3 separate regions of the Homo sapiens genome follow, and regions 2 and 3 are each linked to region 1. Evidence: promoter capture Hi-C in human tissues and cell types (Jung and others, 2019). All regions are on one chromosome and are shown on one strand. The core of a region is centred on a gene start or on the middle of the fragment in contact, and the rest is flanking DNA. Distances in the headings are between cores, read along the strand shown.

Region 1 (3,423 bases), core at 911-3,410:
GGCCCTGGTGACTAGAGTGACCATCTGGACCTCTCTGGGCAGCTCTTTGGGTGGCAGTTGTAGGATCAGGTACTTGCTCAAGCACTGCATCCTCATCACTCCCCAGCTTAGAGTGAGGCCAATTCAGATGCTTAATCAACTTCTCTTTTCCATCTCCTGTAGTTCAAACGGCATTTTGCCCCCATCTCCCTCCAAAGTGGCAGATATCACAATGCCATGCGTTTGCACAAGCCAGTCCCTCTAACAGCAGATGTGATCCTGAGGCTGGGCTCCTGAGTTGCTCCCCACTTGGGAGCCCTGTATGGGATGAATTGCATCCCCTCAAATTTATGTATTGAAGTCCCAACCCCCAGTACAGTACAGCCCCCTTATCCAAGATTTCACTTTCCAAGGTTTCGGTTACTCTCAGCCAACTGCAGTCCAAAAATATTAAATAGAAAATTCCAGAAATAATTCATTAGTTTGACATTGAGCATCCTCCTGAGTAGCATGATGAAATCTCGTGCTGCCCAGCCCACCAGGAACACGAATTGTCTAGAATATCCATGTTGTCTCTACTACCGGCCTGTCCGTCACTTAGTAGCTGTCTCATTTATTGGGTCCAAAAACCATAGTATATGTAGGGTTCAAAACGATCTATGATTTCAGGCATCCACTGGGAGTCTTGGAACGTATTCCTAGCAGACTGGGGGGGGACTACGGTATCTTAGAATGTGACTGTATGTGGAGATAGGGTCTTTTTTTTTTTTTTTTTTTTTTTTAAGACAGAGTTTCGCTCCTCTTGCCCAGGCTGGAGTACAATGGCACGATCTTGGCTCACTGCAACCTCCACCTCCTGGGTTCAAGCAATTCTGCCTCAGCCTCCCAAGTAGCTGGGATTACAGGCGCGTGCCACCATGCCCAGCTAATTTTATATTTTTAGTAGAAACAGGGTTTTTCCATGTTGGTCAGGCTGGTCTTGAATGCTTGACCTCAAGTGGTTCACCCTCCTCAGCCTCCCAAAGTGCTGGGATTACAGGTGTGAGCCATCATGCCCTGCTGGAGATAGGGTCTTTAAAGAGCTGATTAAGCTAAAGTGAGGCCATGGAGGTGGGCCCTAATCTGATATGATTGTGTACTTATAAGAAGAGGAGATGAGGACACAGATGTACACAGAGGGAAGAGCACATGAGGAGACAGGGAGAAGATGCCACCTAGAAGCAAAGAAGAGAGGTCTCAGGAGAAACCAGCCCAGCTTCCAGAGCTGTGAGGAAATAAATCTGTTATTTAAGTCCCCAGCCTGTGGTGGTTTGTTATGGCAGCCCTAGCTGACTAAGACACAGCCCGATTGGTTGGTTCTGACACTTCTTACCACAGTTCACTGCATTCTCTTCACTGAATTGCAATTATCTGTTGGCGTATTGGGTTGGCCCGCTGGGGTGACAGGCCTGGCATATGCACTTTTATTATCTCTAGCACTGAGAAACCCTGGCATTGATAGCTGCATGCGAAGTGCTTGCTGAATTCATGAGAGCTACTGCTGCAGTGAAAGCTCTGAAAGTGTCCAGAGAGGGACAGGAATCTTCTCTTTGGGCAGAAGTGATCTTTTCACTTCACTTGCAAAGTACATCAGATGGAAAGGTAGCCCAGGTGTACGGTGTTGAGGAAGGGCCTACTGGAAGCTGCTTTTCCTAATTTTCAGCTGGTGAGGTTTGATGATTTGGTAGACTCACTGATCATTTTGTTCTTTTTTGGGTTCTGTGGTGTTAGTAAATGGCTATATTTAGATTCAATTTCTCTTTCTTGTACTCTTTGTTGTTCTGCCATTCTCTTCCGCTCCCAGTCCTGGCCCCACCGCTCCTTCTTCCAAAAGCTCCCAGTGGCCCTCCCAGACCTGCTGCAGGTGGAGAAAGTGTTCAGCTGCTGGTCCCCTCTCCCCTCCCACCCCAACTCCAACTGAGCACTAGCGGCTCACATCTGTGGGCCTTGCTTTCCCCATAAACACACATGGGTGTACTGCAAGGGCTTACCGCAACTCTGGTAGAGCACTTCCAAGCCGCTGTCGCTACAGACCACGTGTGTGGGCCAGGCTTTCCCACCGCCGCCTCCACTGCAGCTGGGAAAAATCAGAGTCCAGAGGAAGAGAGTGGCTGTGAAACCCTTCATGGTGGGGGCCTGTATGGGACACACAGAAAAATAACCGGCCAATAAAAAGCCTGTAAAATTTCTTCCTCTCCCCTCACCAAGGCAGTTGGATGTTCAGTTTCACTTCTCAAATTTTAGACTCGCTGGGAACCACAGTCAGAAGTAAAAGGCTGAGAGCAGAGGCATTTGAATACTGTTCCCCCAGGACCTTGAATCTACAGGTGTGGCTGGTCTGGTCTGGGGTAGGATGCGTGCTGACTTTCTGCTTTCACAGGGAGAGGGTCAGTAGTGATGCGTGAACTTACCTCTTGGGGGCCCCTCAGAACAGCCTCCACCCCCAGGTGAGGCTGTAAACTTGGGAAAGACAAAGCGCAGGCCACCATCTGTTTCCCATCTCCAGCCCCCGAGTCTCTGCAGGCTCTTGATGCAGGCTGTGTATGGACCCAGGGACCTGGCTGCAGCCAGCAGGCAGCAGTTGATAGCACGAGGGCTACAGAATGACATTTGGAATCTGGAATGAGGCTTTGGCCCTATTGTCACTTTCCTCTCCTCTGGCTTTGGCTCTGCTCTTAGGTTTGGGATTTTAGCAGTGAATTGTCCAGCTGCAGAACAGACCTTGTTTTGGGAGCTGCAGATGTGGTCTCTGGAGATGAGGCAGAGGCAATAGCCCTGAGAAGTGAGCCGTGTTCTATTTCTGGGTTTGGCTTGGTAGAAAAAGTAGGAAGGGTGGGGAGGTGGGGCCACCCTTAAGGAGGCTGGTTTGCTGGTTTTGGTGTTAGTGGGATCATTGACATCACATCTCACTTTCTCTTCAAAGCCAAGATTCTGTCTTCCTTCTTCCATGTATCTCTATTCTGCTGCAGGACAGCAAGGTTTCTCAGTCTTGATTCCTCAACCCCGCCCCAGCTTCACCTTAATGTAAGAGGACCAGAGTCAGTGCCAAGGTCAGCAGATTTCAGGAGCAATAGAAAACACTATTTTCCCTGGGAGGAACAGCATTTTTCTGAATGCACTAGGTAAATTTACTATTTCTGCTGATGGCTAAGCAAAAATTAGAGTTAGCTCAAAACTTTTTTTGAAATAGGTGGAACATAATTACCAATAAATTAATTGGTAAATAATTTGGATTTCTTGATAGACATCAGAGAGTGGTCATTTGGAGAAGGAACAGTTGTGGATTGATTATTTTTAGGTACCTCTGCAAATAAGTTCAGTGATGATGGCTTTCAACAGCAGTTCTCAAAGTGCGGCCTGGGAAGATGACAGCCTCAGCTTCCACTGGGGGCTTGTTAGAGATGC
Region 2 (3,234 bases), core at 102-2,601, 350 kb after region 1:
GAGCTCCTTGGATACAGATATAATGCCTTTTACATGTCCTGTCTGATTCAATCCTTCTCTTTCAGGTGGGGGCAGTGGGGGGACGATGAACTGCTCAGACATTATCTTTTTTCTCTTATGGTAAAAGCCAGCAGTGTAATGAAGTTTCCATTTGTGGTCAAACAGCTTGGTTTCTCAATTATTAAGCTTACATTTCTTATGCCTCTTCACCCCATATTTTTGGAGAAAAACAGACATTTATTACAAGGCATCTCTCGAATGTGATAATCATGGGCAATCTAAATGTCTGCTTTCCCTGAATTGCTTCCTGGAATGAGGTTTCAATGCTGCAGCTATTCTGTAATCACACAGGCTATTTCTGAAGCACAGGGATGCTTTACAGCACTCCCTCCAAGCTGAGCGGTTGGTGCTGCTCTGGTCTCCTGGGGCCAGCATCCCCAGGATAGATGGATAGCAAAGGAGCAAAGCAAAGCCAGCTCAGCCCTTTAGGATATGCACAGCTTCATGCACCTTGGGTTCCCTTCATACCCTCTTTCTTTCCCCTGTCTCCTCCTGTTACATCCTTCCCTTTTTCCTCCTCCTGCTCTGCATTTTTCCCTCTCTCATACGTCCATTCCTTTAATTCAGATATTTTTGAGGCCTGTTCTATACCAGCTCTACACCATGCAGCAGTGGTATGGCAATGAAAACAGCAGGCCACACTTGGAGACCTTGAAATCTCAGTTTTCTCTCTCAGTCCACATTTGCTTATTTCTCTCATTATTGTCAATTAGTAAAATATGTTTTGGCCAAATGAGCATCCTCAGATACTGAGAGAGACAAGGTTAATAATTTCCTGTGGTCATAGTTATCATGAAAAATGAGTCTAATTACCCACCCCTATCAGAGCTTGGGTCATATATATACCAAAGGACATTCATATATCGGTAGTTATATGCTTCATACTATTCATTACAGTTAGTTACAGGATTTTTTTTAATTGAAGTAAAATTTACATACAGTAAAAAATCATGGATATTAAATGCACAATTCAATGACTTTTGATTGGGGTAATCACCACCCCAATCAAAATATAGACATTTCCACAAGCTCAGAAGTTTCCCTCGTGCTTCTTCCGGTCAATCCCCACCTCATTAGGTAGCTACTATTCTGATTTCTTGCAATGGGTTACATTTGTCTATTCTTCAACTTTACATAAATGGATTCACACAGTAGAAATAGGGCTGGCTTCTCTTACTCCATCAACTGTTACATGTGTTTTCAATGCTTTCCTTACCATTACTAAGAAGTATTTTATTGCATTGTATATCACAATTTGTCTATCCATTCACCTATTGATGCATGTTTAAGATGTTTCCAATGTGAAGCTATTATGAATACAGTTACTATAAACATTCTTGTACAAGTGTTTTTGTGTATGTGTTTTCATATATCTGGAGTAAATAGCTAAAGAGAGCATGCCTAGATCAGAAAGTATGTATATATTTAACTTTATAAGAATTGGCTAGTTTTCCAAAGCAGCTCTACTGTTTTACATTCCTGCCAGCAACATATGAGAGTTCCAGTTTCTCCACAGCTTCACCTATTCTTGATGTCTTGAACCTTTTTAATTTTAACCAATCAAATGGGTATATAGTGGCATTTCATTGTAGTTTTAATTTTCATTTCCCTGATGGCTAATGATTTTGAGCATCTTTTAATACATTTATTGGCTATATATATATATATATATGCAGCATGTTTTCAAGTCTACTGATTTTCTTATTCAGTCATTTGTACTTTTATTATTAAGTTATAGTTGCTCTGTGTATATACCTCTCATTTGTCAGATATGTATAGAACATATTTTCCCCAAACTATGGCTTGTAGTTATATTTTATAAATGGCATATTTTAAGTAACAAAAGTTTTTAAATTTTATAAAATCAAATTTTTTCATTGTTCTTTAATAGTCATCCCCAGTAAATGTTCTTTCCACATGAAGACTTTCACATGAATCACTATTTGCCCATGTTTGCCACTATTTCTCCTATGTTTTATTTTTGAAGCTTTATAATTTGAACTTTTACATTGTGGTCTATGATCCATCTTGAGTTACCTTTTGGTGTTGTGTGAGGTAGGGATCAAATCTTATTTTTTCCAAATTTATCCATTTGTTCCACCAGCATTTGTTGAAAAGACTGTTGGAAAGGCTTTCATTCGTTGCAAAGAGTTTCTTTGTTGAAAAGACTGTCATTTTCTTCATTGAATTGCTTTGGTGACTTTGTCAGAAATCAAATGTCTACATGAGTATGGATCTATTTCTAGACTCTCTTTTCTGTTTCATTAGTTTATATGTATGTCCTTATGACAATACCACACTGCCTTTTTTACTGCTTTCCTCTAGTAAACCTTCAAATCAGGTAGTCATTCATTTTTGTTCTTCTTTTTCAATATTATGTTTAATTATTCTAGATCCTTTGTATTGCTATGTAAATTTTGGAAACAACTTTCCAGCTTTAATGAAGTGCCTATTGGCATTCTAACTGTCCCGTTGTCTTGATCTATTAAAGAAGTATTAAAATGTAGCCTATAGCCATCTTCCAGTGATAGCACATCCATTCATTCAACAGAACTTATTGAGTTCCCACTCTGTGCTAGCCCTGGGAATATAAAGTCAAAACAGCATAGTGCCTTCCTTCCTTCTGTGAACATAAAGTCTGGGAAAAGAACAAGGACAGTCTAACCAATGACACAATACAATGTGATAAATGGATAGTACTATGCAAAGAGTACTATGTGATCAAAGAGTAAGGACATCCAAATCAAGGTGATAAGTAAAGATTCCCAGGGTGAAACCAGCTGAGTTTTAAAGGATCAATAGGGCACCAGGTAAAGAAGAGGTTTGAGTGTGGATGGACATTCCAGGGAGCGAGAATAACATTTCCAGCAACAACAAGGCAGAAAACAGCTTGTTATTAAGCAAACCACTATGAAAAACCAAAGACATGGTAGATGATTTTCCTTTCCTTTCGACCAAGTATGTGACCCTGGCTGTTGTAAGTGCCATAAAAGCCCAGAAGAAAATCAAGGATGAAGAGCCAGGCAAGGGAAGAAATAGAATTGCTGCTACCCTATTTCTTTTTTCTTGTGCATTTTCTGGGATGCCTGCCCATGGAATAACCTGAGTACTTGACCTTCAGCTCATCTCCCTTCCTATCCTTACAACATAACTTGGCAAATGGCGGAGCAGGCA
Region 3 (3,028 bases), core at 387-2,886, 500 kb after region 1:
ATTCTCTCCCATCCAGAGCGTCAACTCTAGGTTGATTTTTCCTCTTATAGATTCGCTAAAAGCAAAAGGAACTACCTTATCCCTTCAAACATGAAATGTACTACTTGTAACCAAAAAGGCACTCATTAGAAAAAGGAAACTTATCACCAAAGGCACATGGTGGTCTTGGTCCACACTACCTTAGTGTTGTGGTTGCACTGTTGTTGAGAGAACTCCAAGACTTACGTTTCAATGTTGAATGGACATACTAATTCATGTCCACTTCTTTCAAAAACTCTAACAATTTATTTGGTTGGGCCAGTTTTATAGTTTCTACAAATCTGTAAAGCTTTCATTCAAAAAAATCCCTGGCCATTTATTCATTTGACAATCAGGCATGAGATACAATTTCTATCCTTATTACCAGCAAGCTAGCAGGAGATGAGAATGTAAACTATTTTCAGTTAGGCCAGACATTCCTATAGAGGTTGCTGTTCTTCCCACTTTGACTAGTGTCAGAAGCGTGCACTGGAAGTCCCTAAAGTAATTGTCCAGAGGACGGCAGGGTCTAAAAACAGCCTTATCTAATAGAAACGTAATGCAAGCCACATGTGATTTGGAATACTCTAGTAGCCACATTAAAAACAAGTAAAAAGAAACTGATAAAAATCATGCTCTTAATATATCTTAAATGACCACACACTTAGTGAATTAAAACCAGATAAATGTATTATCTGGAGTCCAAAATGGGTCTCATTGAGCTAAAATCAAGGCATTGATGGGGCCATGTTCTTTTCTGGAGACTCTAGAGGAGAACTTGTTTTCTTGCCTTTTCCAGCCTACAGAGGCTGCCCACTTTCCTTTGCTTGTATTCAAAGCCAGTAATAGCTGGTGGAGTCTTTCTTAGATCACATCACTTCGATGCTGACTCCTCTGCCTCCCTCTTCCACATTTAAGAACTTTTGATGACATCGGGCCCACCCAGATAATCCAAGATGATCTTATTTGAGGTCAACTGATTAGCAACCTTAATTCCACCTGCAACCTGCATTCTCTTTTGCCACATAATAAAACGTAGTCACACGTTCTGGGGATTAGGACATGCACATCACAGGGAGAGGGGTCTTATTCTGCCTTCTACAGTCAATATAAAAATTATTAATAAAATATTATTATTTTTTGTTCTTCTCACTTCAAATTCTTCAAAATTCTGTGTGTATTTTGCACTTACAGCACATCCCAATTTCAAGGACAGTCACATTTGAAGGACTCAATAGCCACATGTGGCCAGTAGCTACCAAAATGGATAGCAGAGATTTAAAGCAAGGGTTCTCAACTTGGGCTGTACATTGGAATCCTCTCAGGAGGAGCTTTTTAAAATCCTGACTCTCAACCCATACACCATTCCAAAGAAGTCAGAACTTAGGCATAAGTAATTTTTTAAAGCTCCTCAGATGATTCCAATCTGTAGCCAAGATTGAGACCCTTCAGTGTAGGGCAAGAATAAACCTCATTCTTTCTATGAACTTGAAACACTTCCCCAGTCTCTCTCTCGCTCTCTTTTTTTTTCTGTCTCTCTCTCTCTCTCGAATCAGAGCCATTTCCCTGGTGGCAAAGGCTTAGTGGTTGTGCCATGCTAGGCATTTAAAATGGTAGGTGCTCTGTGTGTGTGTGTGTGTGTGTGTGTATACAAAGGTGTGTGCATTTAGCTCTCAGCATTCGAAAACATACTCAGTGTAACTTCTGAGTCTTCTGACTCACTCTGAGATCCATTCACTCACATCCTCTTATTCACTAGATATTTAGTAAATACCTGTTGTGTGCCAGGAAATACACCAGAACGTTCTGGCTCTTTCTGTCCATGGTTTGTGAGAGAAGCTGCTATGGAAGAATTTTAGGGTCAAAATTTTTATCCCATGCTGCCTGATGACTCTTCTGGGGACACAGACACACACACACACAGACACATAAATGCATATTTTTTATAACACTGGATAGACATTGCTGCAGTTAGATCTGAGCAAATCCATTCTATTCCAGAAAAACAACCCAGGATGAACTCCTTTTCCAAGAGAAACTGTGACATCTTAACAGTGACTTTGCCGACAAGTGCAAATGATGCAATGGTCCCTGAACCCTGAAACAGCAAACTCCCTTGCACCTCTTGCAAACCTTTCCTGTCACCTATTTGCCTCCCTTTCTGTCACACTTTTCTCTCTGCTTTGAATATTCCTGGGTCTCTCCTCTTCCTTATGAAGACGGTCCTCCATGACCCGGTCTGCCTACCTTCTACTCTCCTGCTTTCTTAGGTCACTAGATCATGTCTGTTACCCACAGTCTCAGTTCCACTTCAACTGTCCCCTTCTGAAAGTTAGTACAAATCCCACCAAATGCTCACTACCAGAGTGTTCCTCATAAACAGAAAACCCTTCTCCCTCTCTTTCTTCTCTCCACACTTATTACACACAGAATAAAATCTAAGGTCTTTAACATCCTCCACGATGTTAGGTTTGTTTCTCTGGAAAAAAGCATTGTTTCATGGAAAAGAAGAAAAACTGATATATATTTTAGGTGCTTTCACTTGATGAGTCAACTTCTCTCCATTTTTCAAAGTATTCATTGGTCTGTTTGCATACTGATGTGACCCAATTCCATTTGCACTTTCCTCTCCCACTTCCTACCCCCAACTAGACTCTCTTATTCCCTGAAGAGAAGAGATTCTGCATTTTGCCCAGGTTGAGTTCACTTCCTTCACATCATGAGTAGGCACTTTACCCACATTTCCTGGCTCTTCTCGACAAGTCTCACAGGACCTTCCTACACTAATCCATCTGAGGATGCAATCTGATTGGTGTATTTAAGTCTGCGTCTTGACCTCTGTATTAGTCAGTATTCTCCAGAGAAACAGAACCAATGGGATGTATATGTGTGTATATATAGAGAAAGAGATTTATTTTAAGGAATTGGTTCCCATGATTATGGAAGCTGGGAAGTTTAAAATCTGCAGAGTGGGCAGGTGGGCTGAAGACCCAGGGAAGAGCCAAGGTTG

The links. The method cuts DNA at HindIII sites, captures the fragments that hold promoters and counts their contacts. A contact is called where the count stands out against the background at its distance.
Region 2: a fragment that was not itself captured here is called in contact with the fragment with the promoter of LY86 in region 1 in 1 of the 25 tissues and cell types used here (aorta).
Region 3: a fragment that was not itself captured here is called in contact with the fragment with the promoter of LY86 in region 1 in 2 of the 25 tissues and cell types used here (lymphoblastoid cells and thymus).

What each region holds. Positions count from the first base shown.
Region 1 is chr6:6,587,457-6,590,879 of GRCh38, reverse strand. LY86 (lymphocyte antigen 86) reads right to left here and starts at 2,160. Exons shown (of 5, transcript NM_004271.4): 1 at 2,010-2,160. The coding sequence starts at 2,145. All of the region lies in intron 1 of LY86-AS1 (LY86 antisense RNA 1), which reads left to right. The HindIII fragment of the contact is 16,234 bases long and covers 1-3,423 here.
Region 2 is chr6:6,237,214-6,240,447 of GRCh38, reverse strand. The region is part of intron 6 of F13A1 (coagulation factor XIII A chain); the gene reads left to right. Among named protein-coding and RNA genes, the nearest start is that of MIR7853, 69 kb to the right of the region's middle. The HindIII fragment of the contact is 3,988 bases long and covers 1-3,234 here.
Region 3 is chr6:6,087,421-6,090,448 of GRCh38, reverse strand. No RefSeq gene overlaps it. Among named protein-coding and RNA genes, the nearest start is that of MIR5683, 80 kb to the left of the region's middle. The HindIII fragment of the contact is 5,129 bases long and covers 1-3,028 here.